Regions from separate parts of the Homo sapiens genome. Here all the other regions are linked to region 4. The links are contacts of gene promoters, found by promoter capture Hi-C in human tissues and cell types (Jung and others, 2019). All regions are on one chromosome and are shown on one strand. Each heading gives the region's core, a stretch centred on a gene start or on the middle of the fragment in contact. The rest is flanking DNA. Distances are from core to core; before and after follow the strand shown. Region 1 has its middle 190 kb from the start of UBE2E1. Region 2 overlaps UBE2E2 (ubiquitin conjugating enzyme E2 E2). Region 3 overlaps UBE2E2 (ubiquitin conjugating enzyme E2 E2). Region 4 holds the start of UBE2E1 (ubiquitin conjugating enzyme E2 E1).

The links. Contacts are between HindIII fragments. The study calls those that stand out against the background at their distance.
Region 1: a fragment that was not itself captured here is called in contact with the fragment with the promoter of UBE2E1 in region 4 in 1 of the 25 tissues and cell types used here (IMR-90 fibroblasts).
Region 2: a fragment that was not itself captured here is called in contact with the fragment with the promoter of UBE2E1 in region 4 in 1 of the 25 tissues and cell types used here (IMR-90 fibroblasts).
Region 3: a fragment that was not itself captured here is called in contact with the fragment with the promoter of UBE2E1 in region 4 in 1 of the 25 tissues and cell types used here (mesendoderm cells).

What each region holds. Positions count from the first base shown.
Region 1 is chr3:23,614,443-23,617,811 of GRCh38, reverse strand. No RefSeq gene overlaps it. Among named protein-coding and RNA genes, the nearest start is that of UBE2E1, 190 kb to the left of the region's middle. The HindIII fragment of the contact is 9,145 bases long and covers 1-3,369 here.
Region 2 is chr3:23,565,157-23,568,259 of GRCh38, reverse strand. The region is part of intron 5 of UBE2E2 (ubiquitin conjugating enzyme E2 E2); the gene reads right to left. Among named protein-coding and RNA genes, the nearest start is that of UBE2E1, 240 kb to the left of the region's middle. The HindIII fragment of the contact is 6,098 bases long and covers 1-3,103 here.
Region 3 is chr3:23,588,792-23,591,782 of GRCh38, reverse strand. UBE2E2 (ubiquitin conjugating enzyme E2 E2) reads right to left here. Exons shown (of 6, transcript NM_152653.4): 6 at 1-2,049. The coding sequence ends at 1,952. Among named protein-coding and RNA genes, the nearest start is that of UBE2E1, 220 kb to the left of the region's middle. RefSeq lists an enhancer at 1,498-1,997. The HindIII fragment of the contact is 5,004 bases long and covers 1-2,991 here.
Region 4 is chr3:23,804,337-23,807,588 of GRCh38, reverse strand. It overlaps UBE2E1 (ubiquitin conjugating enzyme E2 E1), which reads right to left and starts at 1,634. Exons shown (of 6, transcript NM_003341.5): 1 at 1,501-1,634; 2 at 168-352. The coding sequence starts at 319. UBE2E1-AS1 (UBE2E1 antisense RNA 1) reads left to right here and starts at 684. Exons shown (of 2, transcript NR_046652.1): 1 at 684-770; 2 at 2,875-3,252. RefSeq lists an enhancer at 119-208 and silencers at 509-688, 889-1,188, 1,379-1,508, 1,589-1,698. The HindIII fragment of the contact is 15,489 bases long and covers 1-3,252 here.

The DNA.
Region 1 (3,369 bases), core at 253-2,752, 190 kb after region 4:
TTTTATGGTTTAAGTCTTTAATCCATCTTGAGTTAATTTTTGTGTAAGGTATAAGGAAGGGGTCCAGTTTCAGTTTTCTGCATATGGCTAGCCAGTTTTCACAACACTATTTATTATATAGGGAATCCTTTCCCCATTGCTTGTTTTTGTCAGGTTTGTCAAAGATCAGATGGTTATAGATGTGTGGTGTTATTTCTGAGGCCTCTGTTCTGTTCCATTGATCTATATATCTGTTTTGGTAACAGTACTGTGCTGTTTTGGTTACTGTATCCTCGTAGTGTAGTTTGAAGTCAGGTAGCGTGATGCCTCCAGCTTTGTTCTTTTTGCTTAGGGTTGTCTTGGCTATGTGGGCTCTTTTTTGGTTGCATATGAAATTTAAAGTAGTTTTTTCTAATTCTGTGAAGAAAGTTAATAGTAGCTTGATGGGGATAGACACATTCTATAAATCTATAAATTACTTTGGGCAATGCAGCCATTTTCATGATATTGATTCTTCCTATCCATGAGCATGGAATGTTTTTCCATTTGTTTGTGTCCTCTCTTGTTTCTTTGAGCAGTGGTTTGTAGTTCTCCTTGAAGAGGCCAGAACCAGCTTCTTTGAACCAGCTTCCTGAAAAACAGGAAGTTCTCAAGGCCGACTTCCTGGAGATGGAAGCTGAGACTACAGATTGTAAAAGCCTTGGCCTCAGGGGACCATCTCCAGGTTCTGCAAGGGGCTTCTTCAAACCTCTGTGTGTGGAGTCATTTTGTGCTGAGGAGCAGCTCCTTCCTGGCCCTGCACCTTCAAGCTCTCCCTGGGATGCTACAACATAAGGGGCACACGTTCTAGACACATGTTTATTTTTATTTCTCTTTGGCATCCTGTCTTCATCCCCTCAGAAGGTCTGTCTTGAGTTCCTATAACACTGTGACTCGCTCAAGCCAGACTCTGCCAAAACCAAGATACCCACTTACCTGAGTGGAAGAGGTGTTACTGAAACACCATGGGTTCCATCTGGGTCCCATCACTCACCACATAGAGAGCCAATCACTGAGAAAACGAGTATCACCAGGGAAGAAGGCTTTTTATTCAGGTGACGTTATCCTGGAGAATGGGAGATAAGTCTCAAATCCATCTCCTCAATGGACTAAAATTGGGGGTTTATGTAGCTGAGAAGGGATGGAATTGTGTGTGGGAAAACAGGAACTAGGGAAGGGTAAGGAAAATGAATAAAGCGACTGGTGTCTTACTGGCCGGATGCAGTGATCTGGTGAATTTTAGTCCTTTGCCTAAGGGTCAGTTTCCTGAAGAAGGAACCCAGATGAGACAAATAAGTTTCAAGTTTTAAGATGGGGGTGTCAATGTCTATGTTTATTCAAGAAAATCATAAAGGTCAGGCATGATGCCTCGCACCTGTAATCCCAGCACTTTGGGAGGCTGAGGCAGGTGGATTGCTTGAGGTCGGGAATTTGAGGCCAGCCTGGGCAACATGGTGAAACCTCATCTCTACAAAAAATACAAAAATTAGCCAAGTGTGGTGGTGCATGCCACCACATGTGTGGTCCTAGCTACTCAAGAGGCTAAGGTCAGAGGATCACCTGAGCCTGGGGAGGTTGAGGCTGCAGGGAGCTGTGATCGCACTTCAGCCTGGGCAACAGTGAGAACCTGTCTTAAAAAACAAAAAATATAATTTACAAATTTAATTCCCACGCATATCATATTTGACTTGTATAGGAAAATAAAGATCCTGTTGCATCTTGAACATGATCTAGAAAAAATGTTTATACTGGTAGGAGGATCACTTGAGCCCAGGAAGTTGAGGCTGCAGTGAGCCGTGATCACTCCACTGAACCCTAGCCTAGGCAACAGGTTCATTAAAAACAAAAAACAGGCCAGGCACAGTGGCTCATGCCTGTAATTCCAGCACTTTGGGAGGCTGAGGCAGGTGGATCACATGAGGCCAGGAGTTTGAGACCAGTTAGGCCAACATGATGAAATCCTGCCTCTACTAAGAACACAAAAATTAGCCAGGTGTGGTGGCGGGTGCCTGTAATCCCAGCTACTTGGGTGGCTGAGGCATGAGAATTGCTTGAACCCAGGAGGTGGAGGTTGCAGTGAGCTGAGATTGCACCACTGTACTCCAGCCTGGGCGACAGAGCGAGACCCAGTCTCAAAAACAAAACAAGACAAAAAACAAACAAAGAAAAACCCAATAAGTATCAGTTATATGGGACGATAGGGCTGGATTCAGAGGGGAGCCCAGTTTTCAACTCTTCTTTGAAATTCCTGCTTCCTCAAAAGGCCACTGAGCTCTGAAAGATTTGGGACTAAAGACCTATCTCAGGAATCTTCCCCTGAGCTAAAGGCCACTTGAGTTGGGGCCATTACTTACCTTGGTTGGACGGGGGTAGCAATGCTTGATGCACATGGGAGAGTCTTAACATGCGTCTTACGGAGGAGATGGACACTGGTGCAGGGTTGGCACTCTGGTGCTGCATATGTTGCCAAGAGCCTGTCTGCTCCTACCGGGCCAGGTAGCATGAGTGATGCCCCCACAGCTCCTCCCTGTGGACTTAGGAAGGTGCCCCTACTCTTGCACAAAGCCACTTAGGGCAAATCTGCAGAGCATATTTTGCATGTCGAAGCATAGGTCTATTTGGATTATCCTTCTTCTATTTTCTCCTGACAGCTTCCTTTCCAAGAAATCAAGAAAGAAAACAAAAGCTAGCCAGGGGTGGTGGCTCATGCCTGTGATCCCAGCACTTTGGGAGGCCGAGGCAGGTGGATCATGAGGTCAGGAGTTCGAGACCAGCCTGACCAACATAGTGAACCCCCCATCTCTACTAAAAATACAAAAAATTAGCTGGGCGTGGTGGTGGGCACCTGTAATCCCAGCTTCACATGAGGCTGAGGCAGGAGAATCGCTTGAACCTGGGAGGTGGAGGTTGCAGCGAGCCGATATCGTGCCACTGCACACCAGTCCAGGCAACAGTGCAAGACTTCATCTCAAAAAAAAAAAAAAAAAAAAATTAGTCAGGTTTGGTGGGGGGGTGCCTGTAATCCCAGCTACTTGGGAGGCTGAGGCAAGAGAATCACTTGAACCTAGGAGGCAGAGGTTTCAGTGAGCCAAGATTGTGTCACTGTACCCCAGCCTGAGTGACAGACTGAGACTCCAACTCAAAGAAAAAAAAAGAAGCTGAAAACATTTATTAAAAAAAAGGAAGAAGGAAATTGCAGAATATGCAACAATTAAGTAGTAGGCATTTGGTCTTCTGGGGAAAAATATTACAACCTATTTACAAACCTTTGTTGATGATCTGAGTGGTCACTCTCTTGATACCATGAGATACCACTTCACACTCACTAGGATGGCTACAATCAAAATCACA
Region 2 (3,103 bases), core at 162-2,661, 240 kb after region 4:
AAGGGAATTGTGATAGTGGGTGTGAATACAACAGTCATGCCCTAGACATTGTTACGTATCCGTGGTCTCCACCACGTGTGGGAATCTGAACTTGAGCCAAGAAATAAAAATAACCCAGTGGTTTCAGTTTATAGACCATTCTGCCTGCCTTTGACTGTGGAAAAACTGTGGTCAAGGGAGTCTGGTGAGTCACATGGGTGCTGTCTGTGCTGAGGAGTGACTGTCCACTGAAAGTGTGGGCTCTGATTTGGGCTGAGGCCTTGCTCTTGTTCTCTCCTGTGAGAGGGTGTTATATGAATCTTCTGCTAAAGGTGGGACCAACCATTACCTCTAAAAAGGAGGAAACTTATTGCTCTGTGCCTGCCAACTTCCCCCTCTCCTTGAGGGATGCAGTGTCTCTTTCAGTTTTATATCACAAAACCAACAAAGTGTCTAGGATATAGGATACCACAGATGACCATGCAGTAAGTATTTGTTTAATATATGGATTCATGTACAGTTCAACCTATTGGTCAAGATGACTTAGTTTGTGGGTGGTGGCAGGTTCTTCCAGACTAGACATCCTTCTTCATTTCCATTCTTGGGCCTAACTGATATTTATACCCATAGGATCACTGACTCTTTAAGTCACTGACTTGGCGTGGTGAGCATTCTGACAGGTCTGGTGCCACTTTTTGGGGTTTAATATACAGCTGTCTTGGCTTTGAATCTAAAGCAGACATGATCCATTTCCTATAAGTGACCTTTTGCTTGGTCTTCCAGATTCCCCATGACCTTCTTTCAGTCCCTGAAGGTTTCGATTCTTATCATATATAAAGATTCTTACATTTAGTCTGTATTCAGTAGTTTCCTGTTTTACTGACATCTTGCCTGAACTCGAACATACTGTTGTTTAAACCCCTTAGGCAACATGTTCTACCACCTGACGAAATTCTGTCCACACACAGTGCTTCTCCCCTACCCCTGCCTCAGCCAAGTAAGTGGGCAGTTCTATTTCTGGGATTCAAACTCTTACTATATCCCTCTATTATGGATAAAAAATCATGACCAAACAAATCCTAACACATCACGGGAAGCATATTGTGAACCTTGTTTTCCATCTTTCTGCTGGCAGAAAAGGGGGAATGGCTTGTTTTAGTTATAGAAGCATTAACCCACTGGGTACATGAAATGACTAAATAATATTCACTGATCCTAGAATGCATCTTTTTACCTCACTAAGACTGGTCTGGAAATTTGTGAGAGACCAGGCACAGTCAAGTTCACTTTCTTGAGCTTGGGACACAGTCACTACTGATACTGCCATAGTGGTAAGGAAACTAAGTCCTGAGGATTCTAATTCCCAGATATCTCTTGGCCTTTCCCCTTTCCTTCCTCTTTGTAGCCTTTGTCATCTCTTAACTGGGCCACCAAATACTTTCTTGATATGGTTTGGGTATTTGTCCCCTCCAAATCTGCTGACATGTGACCCTCAATGTTGGAGCTAGGGCCTAGTGGCAGGTGTTGGGGTCAGGGGGGTGGATCCCTCATGAACGGCTCAGTGCTCTTCCCTCAGTAATGAGTGGTAATGAGATCTGGTTGTTCAAAAGAGTGTGGCAACTTCTTGCTTTCGTTTTTGCTCCTTCTCTCACCATGTGACTTGCCTTCACTCTCCACCATTGATTGGAAGCTTCCTGAGGCCCTTCCAGAAGCAGATGCTGGCACTATACTTCTTGTACACCCTGCAGAACTGTGAGCCAAATAAAACTTTTTCTTTATAAATTGCCCAGCCTCAGTTATTCCTTTATAGCAATGCAAATGGACTAACACATGTCTGGAGTGTCTGTCTTCAGGCTGTCCACTACGAGATGAACCAAGTTTCAGTCTCTTATACAAGCTTGGTTACACAACTTCGCTCTTCAAAAACCTTTTAATCACCATTACTCCCCATGAGATCCCCACTGGCAAGGCTTGCTATGCATAAAGATGCATTCTGGCCAATAACTTGATGTCCCAAATGCATTTTAGCCTATTAAATTGTATTTTTCAATGTTCTTATCATACTATTGTCTTCAGCAGGGACTGTTCCAATGCTTTGCTCTTCTCCTTAGTTCTTACTGTTTCAGGAGGAAATATGAGTTTTCAAAAGAGGCAAACATGTTAATTTGACAGAGGGCTAAGACTACTGCAAAAAAGGGAAAATACATGGCAAAAAACTTTATGCTCAGTAAGTGTGAGGTGTTGGCTTATACATTAAAACAACGCATTAATATGTAGTGGCTTCCATCTCTCTAAGTTCAAAAGCAACAAATGAATGACAACTCTGGACAACAATTTAGTCTACATTGTCATTCTGGTCTTCCCTAGGGAGACCAATCTCAGAAAGAAGAAAACGATCTCATGACGGAGGTTCTTAAAGCACAAAAAGGAGGAAAGAAAAGAGGTGGCAGAAGCGCTTATCAAAGTGATCTGCGAACACACTAAGTCCTTTCCAATGATGCTGAACTATTAGGCAGAAGCATCTTGCCCTGTGAGAGGGGAAACATTTAAAAAGACCAACTGCTTATTGTGGGATTTTCCTAATCAGAATTTTAAACTGGATTTTAAACCTTTTCAGAGTTGAGCCAACTTCCCTTTAGCCAGAGGGCCCCTATAACCTCCCTAGGTGGAAATCCCAACCTTCTGCTTCCTGCAGCTTCCCTAAGCAGGTCTTTGATTACGTCTAACAAGCCCTGTTGCACTGGCCTCTGTAACCTGTTGACCTTTCTCACCTTAATTCTCCCAGTCCAGCTGCAAACCTCTTTCACTGAAAAAAAAAAAAAAAAAAAAAAAAAAAGCCATGCCTATTTTTGGGATAAGGACATACAAAAGAAATCTCCAAGTTTCTCACTGTTCATGAGAGTGTAATAATTAGAGTTGGGCCTCTCTCTAAAAGACTGCACAGCAGCTTTGTAAAGTAGTGGAAATCCGGCTTGCATCTGGTTGCCTCCCTCCCTCCCTATTTGGCTAATTCCGGGACCTATTTCCCCTTCCTGACACGTTCATATACCTTGACTCACATCATAATGTGACTGTCACCTAATGTGTCATCTCTCCCAGAGGGATGCACATTTTCAAAGAGAAC
Region 3 (2,991 bases), core at 231-2,730, 220 kb after region 4:
CATATTGAATTTATTTTATGTTAAAGAAAGAAATGACACATCGTTATTTGTTTTTCATCCAGCCCCCAGTCTATGTTGGTCTGTGTCAGGGATTGGCAAACTACAACCCATGGGCCAAATCCCATGCCTATGGTGGTAAATAAAGTTTCACTGGAATATAGCTCTGCCCAATGCATTTATGTACTGTCTGTGGCTCCCTCTACTACAACTAGAGGGTTGAGTAGTGCATCAGAGACCATACAGTGCCCTGCTATGCTGAGAAATGTTTTTAAATAAAATGAATGGTAAAATCGTTATTAAAAAGACAAAAAATATTCTCAGGTATTTTGGTTTAGAAGTGGCATTTGCAATATTTAAATATATTTTCTTAGGATTTATTTTTAACTAGTTAAAAACAACAAAAACTGTATCTTTTGAATCAGGCATTTTAAATGTTAAAATATTTAGAGGTGGATGACTTATGCTTATAAATCCTGCTTTTCAGCAGTGAAGGTGTTAATGGTTCCTTAAATGAGACCAAGAGTATGGTAGGGTCTGTAACTGTATGGTGCAGCAGGAGTAGGAGTTTCCACTACGCTTTGTTACACTAATAACCCTGAATTATCAATCAGCAAGTCAGCGTGTTTTAGAAACTACACCACCCACGTTTCCTCTGCCTCCTATAGCTGCACACTAAAATAGCCTGAAGGTGAAGCCAGACAGACACCCTTGTCATTGAATGGGCTGACCGTGACCAATACAGTTGAGTTTACTTCTTTTGCTAAAATCATGGAGAAAAAAGAGCAGCAACAACAACAACAACAACAACAAAAATGAACAATACAAAGCTTGAGGGCAATCACTGTAACAATTTTGAGAGAAATAAAGTTGAAAGTGGCTGAACACAATGATTAGCTCAGACTTCACTTTCACAAGAAGGCTATTTTTGGAGTTACATATTTTAATTGTTGATAAAGAAGGCTGTAACAGAAAGAATGCCCAGTCAATATGTAAAATGATAGCAATTTACTATAACAACCATAAAATCATCAGGCTACTGACAGCTGGAGAAATTCCACATGCTAAGCAACTCAACTCCAAAGAAATATTAGAGGTTTGAGATGAAAAATACACTTGAACCTGTAATTGAATTAGACAAGCCTCACTGCACGTAGGGCTACAGCGGTCACCAGGACACAAAGCAAATGTCGGGTTACCAGAAGTGCAGTTATCAGCCACAGTGATTTATTGAGTGCTTTAATAATACAAGTGTACATCAACTGATCCACAGTCAAAAGTGGCAGGTCCCTAAGAAATTTACAAGCACTTTAAGTAAATCAAAATACATATTATTTTGTTCAATCCAACAGTCTTCTGCGGGAGGGACAGAAGGCTAGTGATAAACAGAGTCTCAGTAATGCACAGTGATTCTGATTGAAGCTTTTGTACAAAAACTTGTTCCCAGTAGCATGCACCCACCAATAAAGACTTCAGTACAAAAAATTAACCCTAAGCACTACATTTAAGTAGAAACGAGATATAATTCTGAATGTGTTTTCCCAAAGATCACATAAAAGAAAAAAAAATCAAAATCAAATAAACAACAACAAAAAAAACAAAACCACACAGTAATACAAAGCTTTGTAAGAAAGCTCTTACTATTACAGCTCCAACATTGTTTGCACTGAAAACAAAAGTTCCCATCTATGATGAGGTGGGAAAAAATCCCAAATCTTTCAAGTTAACAGAAATCAACAAGGGAATAAAATGAGAGATAAAAGAGAGCGTGGGAGAGAGGAAGGGGGGCAGGAAGAACTGGGATGGGAAGATGGACAACATACCATCACAAAATGGTTCCAAATTTAATAAAAATAGGAAAATAAGAACCGAGGTCTGGAGGGGTGGGCAGGGCTACCGATGCACTTGGTGAATGTGCTTGCACAGGTCCCGCGGGGCGGCAGGCAGCAGGCCCCTATGTGGCGTACCGCTTGGTCCACTGTCTGGCCATCCGGTCATGCTCTGCTCTGTTGGTCATGTACTGTGTGGCGATGCTGCCCACCAGAGGGTCAGCTGCAAGGAAAGCAGAGTTGGGAGTCAGTAAATACCAGCACTGTGGGGGAAGAAGTGTTCAGAAAGCTGGCAAGGAGTGGGAGGGTAGGAGATGAGAAGCTGCTGTTCTAACCTGGACCACCATTGCTGCGGCTGAGCCAGTCACCTGCTGCTGACAGACTACATTTCACACCAGCTGCCCCAAGAGTCACCTATCTGTATTTTACTGATAGCTCTTGTCATATTTCTTGACAAGTCTTATTCTCTTTCCCTGTACCCACCACATACTTCTCACCTTGCTCCCCTCGTATTGGTTTTTTTTTTTTTCTTTTGAGACAGGGTGTTGCTCTGTCACTCAGGCTAGAGTGCAGTGGCATGATCACAGCTCAGTGTAGCCTTGACCTCCTGGGATCAAGCAATCCTCCTCCTGCCTCAGCCTCCTGAGTAGCTGGGACCACAGGTGTGTGCAACAACACCTGGCTAATTTTCAAATTTTTTTTTGTAATTTTGGGGGTCTCACTATGTTGTCCAGGATAGTCTCAAACTCCTGGGCTCAAGTTATCCTCCTGCCTCAGCCTCCCAAAGTGCTGGGATTACAGGTGTGAGATGCCTGTCTTCAAGTAGATATTTCACGGAGAAAATGCAGGTGGGCTGTGGGCAGGGGACTCATGGGCTCTTGATGAGCTCTCCTGGGAAGACGTTTGGCGGTCTGGACAACTCCTTACCCTAGGCTAGCACCACAGGCAGGTGGCATTCTCCTGCCAGATTACCTTATCTGAGGAGACGCCAGAGTCTGAGCTGGACAGTCAAAAGAGGGGAGAGATGGTCCACTTCTTCCTCAAAATTTGGTAACATCCAACCTACATAGCTCATTATTACAAAAATACTAATAGATGTTAATAATAGCTAACACTCACCATGACTAACCATGTCCTAAAACTCTAATATGTTAATGACATGGAT
Region 4 (3,252 bases), core at 385-2,884:
AAGCAGCAATAGAGAAAATAATTAGGGCTTCCAAGGCCCTTCTTTCATTTTTAAGAACACATAAACCATGAGGAGCGTTTAAGCTATCCTCATTGGGAGGCAGACCAAATGCAGCAAGAGGCAGTTCGGAAATAGGAAGCCTGTGGAAAAAAAAAAGAGCACAGTACCTCTTGGCGCTGGTGGAGAGGAGTTTGGAGTTTTTGCTCATGCTGACTTTACTCTCCTTCTTCTTGGGGGTGTTTGTTTCTTTCTCGGTTTGCTGGTTGGAAGACGAAGATGAGGAGGAGCTGGTGCTGGCCCTCGAATCGTCATCCGACATAGCGAACCCCCCACCCCACCCCGCAAACAGCCCCTGCAGGGGGAGAGAAACAAAACAGAAACACACAAACCATGCAGCCAGTGTAAATAAGGAACTCGGGTGCTGTCAGGAGGGCATTGACCAGGGGCGCACGCGGCCGCCCACCGCCCTCCACTCGCTTTTCAAAGTCTGCAGGCCCATTAAGGCTTTTGCAAATCGGACGCGGCTTGTTTATTTTTGGCCCCAAGTGGGGAACGCTGTGGGAAAACGGTCTGGAGCTAGGAGAGAGGCCCCTCCCTCGCCCCCCGGGGCTCTCCGCTGGGCAGGGAGGGAGTAGCCCGGGAGGCGAAGGAGGGCAGGGCGGGGGGCGCGGGGCGCCACGGCGGGGCAGGGAGGGAAGGTCCCGGCGGCCGGCCGGCCTCGGGGCTGTTTTTGTCCGCTTTCCGGGGGTCGTGAGGGGCCGGTGGCCCGGGTGAGACTGTGGGGCCACGAGCGGAGTTTGGCGAGGTCGGGAAGAGAGGAGGGGCGGGAAGGAGTAAGAGAGGAAGCCGAAACAGGGGGACGGAGGCGGGGAGCGGGTGCCCGGGTGGGGGAAGGGAGAGGCCGGCGGGGGGCAGGGGCGACGAGGCCCGAGGCCCCCCCGCGCCGCGCCCCGACGCCCCTCCCGGCCTGCCTGCCTCTGGCCGCCCTGCTCACAGCTATGCGGCCGGGCGGGGGTCCGGAGCACACGCCCGATCGCCACTCCTGTAGGGGGATAGGGGCTGCGGCGGGGAATGGGGGGGTCGGCCTCCGCAGCGAAGACATAACAATGAGCCCTTCCGCCCCGGAGGGGTTAATCCCCGCGAACCCCCGCCCCTGGGGAAAACGGGGCTCCCCCAACTCCCTCCCACCCCCGCTCCCGGGCCCCTCGGTGGCCAGTGGGGGGCTCTTGGGGCAGCGCTGACAGTTCGAGCCACAATGACCCCCGTCCTCAATGCGGGCGGCCCCCGCACCCCACGCGGCCCGGGGTCCCTGCCCATCCCCCGCGGGCGGGCCCCGGACCCCTGGGGCTCCCCAGCCCCTCTCCGCTCCCCCCCCGCGCCGGCCCCGTGCCCTGCGGCCCGGCGGCCCCGGCGGCGCGAGTCGGGGGAGGCGGCGAGGGGTGTCCCCGAGGCCCGGCGGCGCGGCCGGGGGGCGGCGGGCCGCTGGGGGGATCCCCGTACCTCTCTTTGTGTCTGGCTCCTCCGTGCCGCCGCGGCGGCTGCTGCTGCGGCTGCGGCTGGGCCTGGCCACTCGTGTCTCTCTCTCGCTGGGAGAGAAGCGGAAGTGCAGCAACAGCAACTATTAAACAGGCAATGGCTTCCCCCAGCCACACACGCTCGCACACACACCACTCCTCCGCCGCCGCCTCCTCCTCCTCCTCCTCCTCGCCCTCACCCCTCCCCCACCCGGCCCGGTCCCACCCACCCGCGCTCCCCTCCCCCTGCAACACCTCCTGGGGGTGCGCGAGGAAGACCCAGGAGACCCCAGGAAACCCTGTCCCCCACAGACACCCCCACCCCAGCGCCTCCTCCGGACGCCCGGGAAGGGGGCGAGGGTTGTGAATTTTCTCTTAAGTGGTTTGGGAACCTGGATTCTGGGCGGGAGAGGGGAAGCCGATGGAGATGGGGGGCGCTGGGAGTGATTGGAACTAGATGGAATAGGGGGGTCACGAGAGAAAGTTCTTTCCAATGAGGGCTTTTGGAAAGGAGAGGAGTAGGGAGGTGGCAAATTGGTGAAAACGTTGGTAATCTGGTGGTGGCAAAGACTTTAGAGAATGCAGCGGGTACTCCACCTAAAAAGCGATTAAAGAGAAAAAAAAAATCACACAACAAGGGTTTTCTTTGGACTGACACTTGCTTCTCCTTCTAGCAATTTACCTGCTAGGAGCAGAGGTCAGTTTAGGTATGCCTGTGAGAAAATCCCAAACTAGGAATTTTCTGCTCAGGTCACGCGAGGCACGTGCAGTTTTACAATATTAGATTCTTCCACTCACTTTTTATAGAAAGTGATGTGGTTTTTTATAAGAGTGATACAAAGGTTTTGGTGACAGGTAAAACCAACGTGTAACGGGCTTGCGAATGTGAGACATCACTGGGAATAAGCTATATACTACTGAATTAGACTGGATTTAGAATTTTTTGTGTCATTTTACATTAGATGTAAGGTTTGGTTTTTGGAAATTGGATGCAAAGTTCTGGGGATCGCAGAATCCCCAGATCGCTAAATTGACCAAATTATTTTTAAAATATTAAGCCATTTTTCTCTTTCTTTAGCTACCTATAAATGCTATGCAAATAATATTTTTGAAATGATCAGCAATTCTTCTGAATTGTTCCTTATTTAGCATTTTTGCCAATTTTTTTTTAATATTAAGCCATCAAATTACGATTCAGTTTCTCACCTTTTGTCATTTCAGTTGAAGGGAACTAAAGAGATGTGTGCCATTCAAATACAACAGTGCCACACATACAAGGTCTTGTACATTAAGGAGACAGCCTCAGATTTCCATAGGTCACTCTAAATTATCTCATTCAAACTGCCATCATTTTCCACAGCAACAGTGGCTTCAGTTACCACAGGACAACACAAGATATACAGCCCATGGCATATCCAGTAACCAGGAAAACAAGCATTCTCACGACCCAGCCGAACTCCTTCTAACCATCAACCTGAAATTCCAGCTTTATCAAGACTCATAAAGTAATTGTGCATGCTTCTTGCTCAATCCCTACCAGGAAACCTGTATCTACCAGGAGTTGTCATAGAATAAGAAGTTCAAAAGCTGGAAGAAATCTTCAGGGTCATAATTTCAGCCTCCTGCTTCCAGACAGAACTATTTCTCCACCACTGAAATGCATATAGATTTTGAAAAAATTTCCAGACATAACCTTTCTTAAGTGTTTGGTTTCAGGAGTCCTGGTAGAGTATATAAA